2 separate regions of the Homo sapiens genome follow, and region 2 is linked to region 1. The links are contacts of gene promoters, found by promoter capture Hi-C in blood cells and fetal thymus (Javierre and others, 2016). All regions are on one chromosome and are shown on one strand. The core of a region is centred on a gene start or on the middle of the fragment in contact, and the rest is flanking DNA. Distances in the headings are between cores, read along the strand shown.

The links. Contacts are between HindIII fragments. The CHiCAGO score rates a contact against its expected background, and 5 or more counts as called.
Region 2: a contact is called between a fragment that was not itself captured here and the fragment with the promoter of SEPTIN11 in region 1, in 5 of 17 cell types (M2 macrophages, endothelial precursors, M1 macrophages and 2 more). The highest score is 9.3, in M2 macrophages.

What each region holds. Positions count from the first base shown.
Region 1 is chr4:76,946,666-76,952,609 of GRCh38, reverse strand. SEPTIN11 (septin 11) reads right to left here and starts at 2,858. Exons shown (of 10, transcript NM_018243.4): 1 at 2,680-2,858. The coding sequence starts at 2,706. LOC105377294 (a long non-coding RNA gene) reads left to right here and starts at 3,045. Exons shown (of 3, transcript XR_001741739.2): 1 at 3,045-3,647. RefSeq lists silencers at 2,564-2,873, 2,904-3,083 and an enhancer at 3,994-4,073. The HindIII fragment of the contact is 7,046 bases long and covers 1-5,944 here.
Region 2 is chr4:76,514,577-76,520,520 of GRCh38, reverse strand. All of the region lies in intron 1 of SHROOM3 (shroom family member 3), which reads right to left. Among named protein-coding and RNA genes, the nearest start is that of MIR4450, 56 kb to the left of the region's middle. The HindIII fragment of the contact is 936 bases long and covers 2,686-3,621 here.

The DNA of each region.
Region 1 (5,944 bases), core at 1,609-4,108:
AGCCTTGAGGTTTGAATGGTTTGTAACAGAATATAACCATTTCATAAGATAGAAAATAGTGCATTTGACATGTAAGCATTTTTGCCCACTAAAATGTCATATTTACCTGGGATATCACACTCAGATGTTCCCATTCAAGAATATCAAAAATTTAGGGTAAGTTATTCAGATTGCATTTTTCTTCAGTCTGGCGGGGAGAGGTAGTTATCGCAAAAGGAGATATATGTCCTAAATAACTTTTTAAAAAATCTAATTAAATACCTAGGGAAATTCCATTCACACATAAATCAACTTCGGAGTGGTTCTTTTCCCTCAGCGCACCCTTCCTTTCTTTTGGTGAAATCACAGACTAGATAAGAAATGGGAGGGCCAGAGAACTCTTAACTTTAAAGGTGCAGTGTAGATTCCATGGAGCTGTGTCTCAAGAGTCTTCCCCATTCATTGACTTTGTTTTAAAGCCATAACTGCAGAGACCACACTTAAGACAATAGCCCAATGAACAAAGTGAAAGGATTCAACAATTATCTGTGAAATGTGATCACATATTTTCTGTAGACTTTCTAACTTTATAGTCAATTCCTAATCACTCGTACATTAGGTTTCCAAAAGAAAAGTCTTCTGTCTTTAGATTGTAATTTAATTTTAATTCCAGTGACAACAGAGTGCGCAGAAAGAAGTCACTTCCTCTGTGCACGTATACTTAAAAAAAATCTCCTCTATTATCTGAAGAGGGAGGTCTAACATAAGAATTCTGTGGGATTAAGCTCACATATGGTTGGCCGACTTGGTGTTGGATGTGATTACGGCCACACAACTAAACCTTAAATCCACATACTGTTCCTATTTAACTGACATATATGAACTAATTTATAGAAAATGTGCAGCTAATTATTTCTTCCACCTCCTCCATCCCTCAAGAATGCACCAGCAATAATACGTGTTACTGAAAAAGCCAAACACCCCCACTGAATATTTGCAATCCTAAACGTTTGCCAATTTATCTAAAGCAGATATTGTTATTTTAGTTCTCTGAATCTATGCCTGCTAATAAGTATAATGGGGGGCAGGGGGAGGAGTAATTTAACCAGATAAATTTCACCTCTATAGACCTCAATTTTCTCACCAAAAATAAAACGACTAGCCCAGAGACTATGCAAATTCCCTCAGTAACAATAACCTACATGTGACCACTAATTATCAAGAGCACAATTTATGTGCAAAAGAAGACCAGAATTCTTAAAAGAGCCATGTCATTAAATCGTAGAGTTGAAAAGGCCTAAAAGACAGTCATGATTCGATATGACCGCTGTGTTTTCTGACTGCAGAAAACGTCTTTGAAAGCACCGCGGGCAGCCGAACCACCAAATCGAATTAGAATCCGCAAAGGGACCCATGAACTTCTCCCGAGGGGGTAGGGTGCAAAAGGCGCGCGTATCTGGGGAGGAGTTAGGCGGGGAGAGGGGGAAGAGCCGGGAGCCTGAGAGCACAGCCTTGCATTTCTGGGATTTCCGAGCTTCCAGTATCTCAGTAAGTCTTTCGTCTGTAACTACAAAATCTCCCGAGCCACCACCTGCAGCTGCACAGCTGTGGGAAAGGGAAGAAGAAAAAGGGAAGAGGAGGTGATAGACAGGGAAAGACATCGCCCGAGGCGCCCCCAAAGCCAGTAAGGCGAGTGGACTGTGAACATCGACGATGAAAAGGGGAAAGGGAAAACAGGAGGACTCCGCCTTTCCCACCCAGCTCCGCTCCTTTCAAAAAAAAGGAAAGGCCGCCGCCGCCCCTTCCTCCGCCTTTCACTTGGGGATGCGGAGCGGCCACTGAACCGCACCCTCGGAGTCCCGCTCCCCTCCGGCCCGGCCCCGGGGCGCGGACCGAGTCTTGCAACCCAGTAGGCGCGGCGCCTTGGCCCACACACTCGGGGCAAAGGTATCTCCTCCCTCCTACTCTCCTCCCTCCCGCCGTGGGGCACTCGATTCTTCACGCACCCGCCCGCCCTTCCTCTTCCTCGCGTCCCAGCCTCCTCAGCCCGCCGCCCCCGGCCTTTCAGCCGCAGAACATTTCAGTCCTTCCACCCACACCACAAGGGAGCCTCCAGAAAACTTTGTGTGTGTTATCTGGGGCTTTGTCCACATCCTGGGCAGGGCCCGCTCAGCCGGGTGGATGCCCGAGGGTGTCCGGGATCTCACAATGCGCTGGGGAGGCCACCACGGAAATCCCACCCCTCTGACCTGCTTCTACAGCAGTGCCACACGCAGCACTTCAGCTCGCAATTCCCATGCCCTGAGCGCCCCCTCGGCGCGGGGGAGACTGGAGGAAAGCCCCGAACCCGGCGCCCTTCTGGCTGTCACGAGGGAAGAGGTGCGCGGGCAGAGGGAGGCGGCTGAGACACGCCGCGCCTCAAAGAATTATTTTAAAGGGAACAGGAGAGGGGTCCTTTTTCTTTCGCATTCCCAGAAGAGGGGCGCGACGAGGCGATCCACTGTTGCATCACGTAACTGAGCCCCTGGGCTCCTAACCCCGACCCCAGACGCGCGCCCAAATTCGTGCACACACCCACAGCCGTCGCCGCCGCCGCGGGGCCGAGCACCCGCCCGGCTCCCCTGTGGTCCTCACCGCACCCGCCCCAGAGCAGAGACCACCCGGCGCCCGAGGAGCAGCAGGCGAGGCCCCAGCACTCACAGACGGTCTCCCCACGGCCACGGCCATCGCAGCTGCGGCACCGGCTCCGGCTGCGCCCGGGTGCTTTACGCCGACTCCGGCTGCTGCTAGTGCTCGGGCTCCGGCTCGCCTCCCTCGCGCCTCCCTCGCGGCTGCGCTCTGCTCGCCGGCGTCCCGCTGGCAGCCAGCGGCATCTGCTCCCCCCACGCCGCCGCCCCTCCCGCTTTATTAGAGCAACATGGCCACCCGCCTGGAAGGGACCATTCGCTTCCCCAGGAAGGGGTGTGAGCCTGCGCGCCCGGCCGCGGTGGTGGGCGGGAGGATGGTGGGCGGGCTCCGAGCCCAGCTCCACTGGCCCCGGCCGCGGGGCTCGCCCCTCCGTCCCCAAACGACCGTCTCCGCTGCCATGAGATGCCGACAGCCTGTGCGCTGGCCGCCACCCCCTGCTCCATCAGGTGCTGGAATCTGAGTAAAAGCCTGGGCGCGAGCTCCCAGCCCCGGGGCCTGCCACCGGCTCCACGAAGCGGGCAGCTCCAGCGGCCGCCGGGAGAAGGAAGGGCGACCGGGGGAGACGGGTCGCAGGGACAGCACGTGGCGGAAAGTTAGCCCCGGACTAGCACGCCCCACCCGGAGAAGCCGGCCTGGAAGGGGCTGCGGACCACCAGGCGGAGCGGTGGGCGACCGAAGTGCGGCTGGGCTGGCCTCCTCGTCTCCGCACTGGAAGAATTGCCCTTCCGCAAGTCTTCCCTTCCCACATGGGGGCCCTCCAGGCCGCACCTCGGTCGCCCACCGCTTCCCTTGAGAAGGGAGACTAAAGACAGGCATCTGGAAGCTGTCACTGTGGCGCGCGGGCAGACAGGGGATCCCATTGGAGAGGAAGAGCCGTAGTAGTCGCTGCTGCCTTCGGCCGACCCAACGGCCGCCTGCTTGGGAGGAAGAAAAAGAACGCCCCCGCTGAAGAATTAAGGCAGCCATTGGTTGCTCTAGGGGTAAGGACCGAGGCCTCCCCTGGGTGTCACTGGAGCAGCCACACGTGGGGGATCAGCCGACTTCATTCGATCGCTGGCGACAGACCCGGCGACCCGTAGGAATGCGCGCTGGGGCTGCGGCTGGAGGGCGTGGCGACGGCAACAGGCGGGTGGCTCGAGTGGGTGCGACTCTGGGCGCGTGGGACTGAGAACTCCTCCGCCGTGGGGAAGATTTTTTTCCCAGCAGATGTTGGGGTGTTACTGCGTGTCTGAGGGGCCGGCGGAATGGAGGGGTCCCGGTGCGTGCAGGGCAGCGAGGTGTGTCAGATGAGCTGTGGATCCCTGCGGCCCCACGTGGGCCGGAGAGGGGGGCCCACGACAACAAGCGATTGAGGACAGCGATGGACAGGGCGGGGAACCAGCTGGGTGGAAGCACAGGGAGTGTGGTGAGGAGGGAAGGGCTGTGATCTGCCCTCGGTACGACGCCCCAAGGGACAGCCTGGCCTCCTGAATTAGGGAAAAGACAACCGGTCTCTTTAGACGGGCGCCTCAGAGTCTGACCTGAGTCTTCAAACGCCCAGATCCCCTGGGGCCTTGAGTCTCCCTGTCCCGCTGGCCCTGCCTCGCCTGCGCTTCAGGACTCCGACGCCCCCGCAGCCTTGGGCTAAGGGTCAGTCGTCCCCGGGCGCGGGTCCGGCTGCCCTGGAACTGATGCTGGATTTCGCTGGTAGGTGGGCTAGGGGCTTGGTCACCCCGTCTGAATTCCACTGTCAGGACAGCTGTGGAACCGCCAGAGAAAAGTCTGGCCATGAAAGAAAGGTGAGGGGCGCCGACGCAGAGCTTATTTATTCAGTCTGTGGGCGGACTCAGACGTGCAGAGCACCAACCTCTTCAATTTCTGCCCTCTAGACTCCAAATCTTTTGAAATTAGGGACCACCATTTTATGCCAAACATACAGTAGGCGCTCAATAAGTGTTGAATTAAGATTACACATAAATGGGCCGGGCGCGGTGGCTCACGCCTGTAATCCCAGCACCTTGGGAGGCTGAGGTGGGCCAACATGGTGAAACCTTGGCTCTAAAAAAATGCAAAAATTAGCCAGGCATGGTGGCGCTTGCCTGTAGTCCCAGCTACTATAGAGGCTGAGGTGGGAGAGTCGCTTGAACTCTGGAGGCGGAGGTTGCAGTGAGCCGAGATCGCGCCACTACACTCCAGTCTGGGTGACGCAGTGAGACCCTGTCTCAAAAAATATATAATAATAAGATTACACACAGATGGGTGCTGTGCAAAGGGAGGGGGAAGACAAATACTTTCTTCTGCAGCTCTGGTACATGGACATTTTGTCCTTTCTCCATAAGGAGGATCAGACAGCAGCAGCACTGCCCATGGACCAGAGGCCTCATGTAAGGCCTGGGAAAAGAGGGCTCCACACACCACCAACCGGATGTAAGGGCAGTTGCAAAGGAACTGTGTTATCTTGACCAGAACAGACTGTAGAATTTGTTTATCAAATTTTTTTTTTTTACTTATTTATTTTGTGAATGTATATGCTGTAAACTCATCTGCTTAGATTGTAAGAATGTGAATGCCCTACCTTGGTGGGTAGGTTAGTTTATTCTAATCAGCAAAACTTAACGTTACATATTCCAACATCTCATTTGGGATGTGAAGATGCTATGGGGAGGGTGGGTATCCTGGCATTGCTAGAATGTTGGAGCCTTAGCGAGAGAGTGGCAGAGTGGGGAGAACCTGGCACTTCAGCTACAGATGATCACTTATGAGCTTTGTTATATCAAATAAGTTAAACTTTCATCTCATTTTTTTTTTTTCTATTGTAAAATAGGGTAGTAACAGTGAGTCCTGGGGGAGGACGTGTTCTGTTAGCCAGATCCACTCTCCAACCTGCTGTCTGTCCTTTGGAGCCTTAACTCAAGAGACTTTCTTTCCCTCTAGCTTCCAGTTGAGTGAAGGCACTAGGAAGCAACAGCGATGGAACAAAGAGGAAGGAGTATGGTTATTTATTCCCCCCTGGCTCCCTTACTATGGCACCATTGCAGGCTGGTTGCCTCCCTCAACCAAAGGAAGCAGCCAGTATCCCTCCCTAGGGTGACCCAGAGTAAACCCCTATGGTTTCCCTTCATTTTGCACATACCTTTGCAGATAGTCTTTTTATAAAACTCTACTCACATTATCCAGTAGGAATGAACATCTCATTCCTTCACAGAATTGTTTTGAGAGTTAACTGAGAAAATACTGTATTATTATTATTAGAATGACCTATAATTTCTGTCCAAACTGAGAAACTTTTGAGGCTGGG
Region 2 (5,944 bases), core at 1,904-4,403, 430 kb after region 1:
CATTATGCAACCTTTCTGGGCCTCAGTTTCCTTATCTGTAAAATGGGGATAATACCTTCTAGGATTTTTATGAGATTTGTATGAGTATATATATATATAGCTTAGAACACCTGGCACATAACATGCACCCAATTATTGTTAATTGTTATTACTAGTGTTGTTATCATCATCATCATCAACAGTTGGTGAAAATAAAGCAAGGGAAGATAACAGAGAGACTTGTTGCGACATGACTGGTCTCTTCAAAGTCTTGAAATGCTGCCAAGAGGCAGAGGGATTAGATGATTTCTCTTTGACCCTGGAAAGAGATATAATATCAAAGAGTATAAATTATAGGAATTCAAATTTGGGCTTAATGTACAGGGGACATCATTTTAATGGTCAGAGTTATCTGAAGATCAAAGGCTTGCTTTGAATGGGAGGTGTCCCTGATTACTGGAGTATTCAGTTCCACTCTGGATAATATTTTGGGTTGTAAGGATTAGCTGGACAATGGAATTAGATGACCTAAAAGAAGCTAGTCTTGTGTGTCTATAATCAAATACATCCATTAAAGCATCAAGCAGAATTTCAAGAAATGATTAAAACACAAGAAGCTCAACACAAAATCTTCCGTTACAATATTGTCACACCTCACACCTCACAAATCCACTCATTAGTTGTCCTGATCATTTCCACCCAATTCTCATAAATAGGAAAGATTCAGTAAAGAGATTTCATTCTGAATAATACACCCAGATGCACATACAAAAAGCCTAAAAGGCACCGTGTTTTATGGATGTTTAAATTCTAAAATTCATCAGTGTATACAGTGAAAATCACATATAGTCAAGACTGTCCTGAAAAATCTTCTAGGAAGGCACTATTTTGGCACCTGCCTCTTCATAAGCCCAGCACAGTTTCCCTCCAGCACTGGAACGGCCCTCTACTTTTCTGGTTCAGTACTAGATAAAGGAAAAGATGTTTGTTCTGGGGGGAAATGAGACCAACTGCGATTCATTATCTTCCTGATTCTTGCTTTAGGACATATACTCAGTGAGTAGACTATCAGGCTGAATTGATTGCATAATTTATATTGTTATTTTTCTATTTTGTCTATTTCTTCTGCTTTTTTCTGTTTACCAAAATTTACAGAATTGATTGAAGTCACTGAAGTTAAATGCACCCTCTGAACATTTAGGAGTAAACTGGGGCCTCTTGGTCAGCAAATGCTATCTTTTGGTCCATAGTTTCTATGACTACTCCCTGACCCCTAGAGATGCACTTTGTTTATCCAGCACCCTCCTTTCTAGGAAAGGCATCCCTCCTTTAAGGGAATAGCCCTCCCGTCTACAGTCAGTGATTCTAAGGTTTTCCCAACCATAGTGTTTCACTGGCCACCCAGGTGGGCATGTGGCCTAAGCCTAACCAACCAGAAGCCTTTGCTGGGATTTCTTCACTTACAACCAGAGAGTAGCTCTCAGTTCTCTTCCAAGGGCAAGGCTATGCCGCATCTTGAGGCTTCACCAGCTGTGTACCCAGACTGTGGTGTGAATGAAGAAAACAAGCAGAGAGAGGCAGTGTTAGGAGAAGGAGACTCCTAGCTCCATTCTTGTTCCACTTCCAGTGATCTCTAGGGTATGTAATCTCTATGCCCTTGCGCTTTTTGTACTGGTTCAATAAATATCTTCTTTTTGCTTCATTGAGTTTACATCGCTTGCAATAAAAAGAATTTTAATACAGCCCTCAAGAGTTTGCTTCCCTGACCTGTATCAGTATTTATGTTTTCTAGGCAAATGAGAGAGTACACAGGAACAGGCTTGGGTGCCTGGCCCCAGATGTGTTACAGTACTCATTTAGAAATATGTTAGATAAGCTCCGTAGAACCCTACCAAATGTGAACAGCCATTTTTGATTCTTTGAAATCATTCAGATTATTTAACACAGGCAGGCAGGCAGGCAGGCAAGCAGGCAAGAAGGAAGGAAGGAAGGAAGAAGGTAGGAAGGAAGGAAGGTAGGAAGGAAGGAAAGAAGGAAGGAAGGAAGGCAGGCAGGCAGACAGGCAAAAAGGAAGGAGGGGGGAGGGGAAAGAAAATGAAATAAAACCCTGTCCATTAATGAGAACACTCTGTTTTTGCCTCTGTCTTTCAAAGACATGGGGAAAATGATCTCATTCAACCACAACAAAGATTTATGGAGTGCATATTAGGTGCCAGATGCTGATATGGAGTGGAGGACACTACGAATGAATAAATGTAGTCCCTGCTCTTGGGGGGTTAAATGCCTAAAGAATTATAGAGGTTTGAACCTCCCCAAAATGTCTGTCTTTCCCCCTATTTATCAGAAGTTGAGATAATTTGATATTTTATATGATTCTTAAGAGTCAAGCTCTCACCCTCCACTAGGAATACACACACACATACACACACACAACCAAAATAATCATCTTGCAATTTCTGAGGGTTGACAGATATTTCCTTATAACTTAAATAAATCTCTCATTTTAAAAGCTGTCCCTCTGGACTAAAAAAAATCTGATTTAGAAACTTTACCACAGTCAATTCATATCATTTACTTTGTAAGGAAAAAGTCTTCATGTTCCTCTTCTATATGCAGCCCTTGCTCTGCTGCAGCCGCAATATCCCGGTGAGGCTACCGGGAGGTCATTCAATCCACTTCCTTTCCACGGGGAATGGCTGGGAAGCTTTGGTTAAATGAGTGGTCCAAGGTCACATGGTAACAAATTCTGGCCCAGAGTCCTAATCTGAAAACCCTAGTCTTTTCCTCTCTCTGCTAGCATACACAGGCCCTCATTGGTCTGAGAATTAGCAGAACAGAACCCATATTGTTGAAGAAATTTTCAAATAATCAGCCACTGACTACAGCCCTAACATCCCCTTTATATATATATATATATATACCAAACAAACAAACAAAAACCCTAAGCAACTCAATCAGGAGAAATTCTTTTTAAGTTTCATTTACATGGATAAGAATCCTAAATCTTACCTATCTAGCACATCATGTCAAAAAACTACAAGTTAACCAAGCAAGAATTCTGTGAAACTACCTGGTCAGACCAGCAGAGCTGAGAACAGTGCCCTGGGCATGCAGGGTTAGGGATGTTCTGTATTTGGGATGCCCTGTACTTGCGATGCAGTGTTACCACCTGGGATAGGGAGGAAGTGAGCCTTTTTTAGACACTGTATCTTTGATAGTCCAGGTGATTTGCCTACACCCATCCAATGCCAACTGCATGTAAACTGGGGTGACTTGTTAGTTCCTGGATGACAAGGGTATGACCCAAGATGGGCAGACACACGGACTCTTTCTCACCAGGGCCTCTGGCAGACATTTTCCATGTATCAAAGCTCAAAGCAAAGTTCTTTTACAGCAAAGAAGACCAAGCAGTTGTCACTGAGAAGAAACCTGATTGCTCTCCTTGCAATGATCCTTTCAGCACTAAATATCTAATCCCATTGTAAGACTGAGAAAGTCACCAAGTGTGTTGTATTGCAGCAGGAAATCTATTTGAAGACAGTTTTAATAACAAGATAAATAGAAGTTCCAAAGGGTAGGAAAGGATTTCCTTAAGTGAGAACATAAATAACTCATCATTAAAATCTGGGTATGATGGAAGCTTGGCTGAAAGCAAGACTCTGGATTGGCTAGCTCAGAGGGAGTTCTCAAACCTCCCTGTAAAACTTTTTCACAGATTTCCTGTTCATGAGACTTGGGGTGGGATTGGAGGTAGCAGCTATAATTTATGAAAGGATCCAGGATCAGAAACTTAGAAAATCAGATCTGGAGACCCAACTTAAGTGTAGTTATTGGCTAGACTGTCCTCAGGGACTGCCCTGGTGATGTACACCAGGACTTTGTGTTTCTGTAATGTGCTTATTGCATAATATCTATTAGCTGGTGATTTTGGTTCCTTTTTTTTTTCTAAATCATGCTCCTGTTTTCATATATTATGAGCAAAGTGCTGTTATCTGAGAGTATCAGCTGACTCAGACCATTCAGTTCAGGGATTCCTCTAGGCTCCTGAGTAGGGGCTTAGATAGGGCAAATTCTGATGGTCTTACAAGGGAACCCCAGTCCTTCATGTCATAAGAGCATCTCTGCCTATAGCTTCATCTGATCTCAACACAGAGAACTAATAAGGTAGGGACATGGCATGATTTGGACTTCAGGAATATTACTTTCCTAGTTGGAAGGATGGATAATAGGAGCAATATTACAGTCTAGAAAACATGTTACAAAGATATTGCAATTGACCAGGCTAGAGAGAAAGAGGAACTGAACAGGAGAAATGACGGAGAAGAGATATACATTTGAGTAATAGTAGGAGGTAAAGTCAGTATCCTTGGTCATTCACTAACCATAGTGGGTGAAGGAGCAGAAAGACTCTGTGGTGACTTCAAAGAAGGATCACAACCCACTTTCCCTCTCGGTCTACTGCTAGTTTCACACACTAACCTGACTCCCAATCTCTCTCATTATCTTTGTGTTATTATGAAGTATCATTTCTGGTTATCAGACATGGCTTCCCATGTAATCATTTCCCATGCCAGGCCCTGTGTCAACAGTTGAGCTTTCTACCCACCTGGAGTTTGAGAACAGATCAAGACCAGCTTATGCCTAATATCTCAAATTAATTATTTACCTCATAAAGTAGTACCAGGCAAGTGAGACTGATAAGTCTGTCCTAGCTTAGAAGAAAGACCACCTACATGACTTCTCAACATGACTTTAAATAATAAAATTAAATTTGGCAATGGGAAGTCTACACCCAGACAAGTCTCGGCTTGAGTTTATATGGTTTTTAGACGTAAAATCCAACTCTGGTCACTGACTGATACTGCAAACCCAGAAACATTAACCAAGAAATATTTCATATCCTCTGCTCTATTGGAATAAAACCCAAGCCACTGAGGAGTTTAAGGGCAAAGGACAATTCGAAAACCTGGAAGCAATGGTCAATGTGCTCATTAGAAGTTCTAAAGGAAATAATAATAATAACAATAACATTCTGAAGACCAGAGCCCAAGGGAATCTCAGAGAACAATGGAAATTTCTATTGTGTTGAAAATCATGGAATCAGCCTCTCTTCTCTTGTTTGGTTTTCATTTTCTTCCTTCCTTCCTTTTTTTTTTCAGACAAGTTCTCATTATGTCATCCAGGCTGGAATGCAGTGGCACCATCTTGGCTCACTGTAGCCTCAACCTCCTGGACTCAACTGATCCTTCTGCCTCAGGCTCCTGAGTAGTTAGGACTACAGGCACATGCCACAACATCCAGCTAATTTTTTTTTTTTTTTTTTTTTTTAGACAGAGTTTTGCTCTGTCACCCAGGCTGGAGTGCAGAGGCGTGATCTCAGCTCACTGCAACTTCTACCTCTTGGGTTCAAGCAATTCTCCTGCCTCAGCCTCCCAAGTAGCTGGGATTACAGGCTTCCAGCACCATGCCCAGCTAATTTTTGTATTTGTAGTAGAGACGGGGTTTCACCACATTGGCCAGACTGGTCTCGAACTCCTGACCTCAAGCGATCCACCCACCTTGGCCTCCCAAAGTGTTGGAATTACAGGTGTGAGCCACCACATCTGAACTTTTTTAACAAATGGGTCTCACTATGTTTCCCAGGCTGGTCTTGAACTCCTTGGCCTTACAATGTGCTGGGATTACAGATGTCAGCCACTGCACCCAGCTCATTTTCTTTCTTGAGCCAAGTATTTTCTCTTCCATCTTTCCTCGTTGTCTTGTTCTCCTTCCCTATACTTCATTTTTAATTTTAATTGAATTATATTTTAAATGTTTAATATATTTATTGAATAAAGTTTCACGCTTCATATATTATTGAGATGTAATTCGCATATCATAAAATTAAATCCACATACTATAAAATTCACCCTTTTTCATTGAACAGTTCATTGGCTTATAGTGTATTTACAGAGTTGTGGAACTA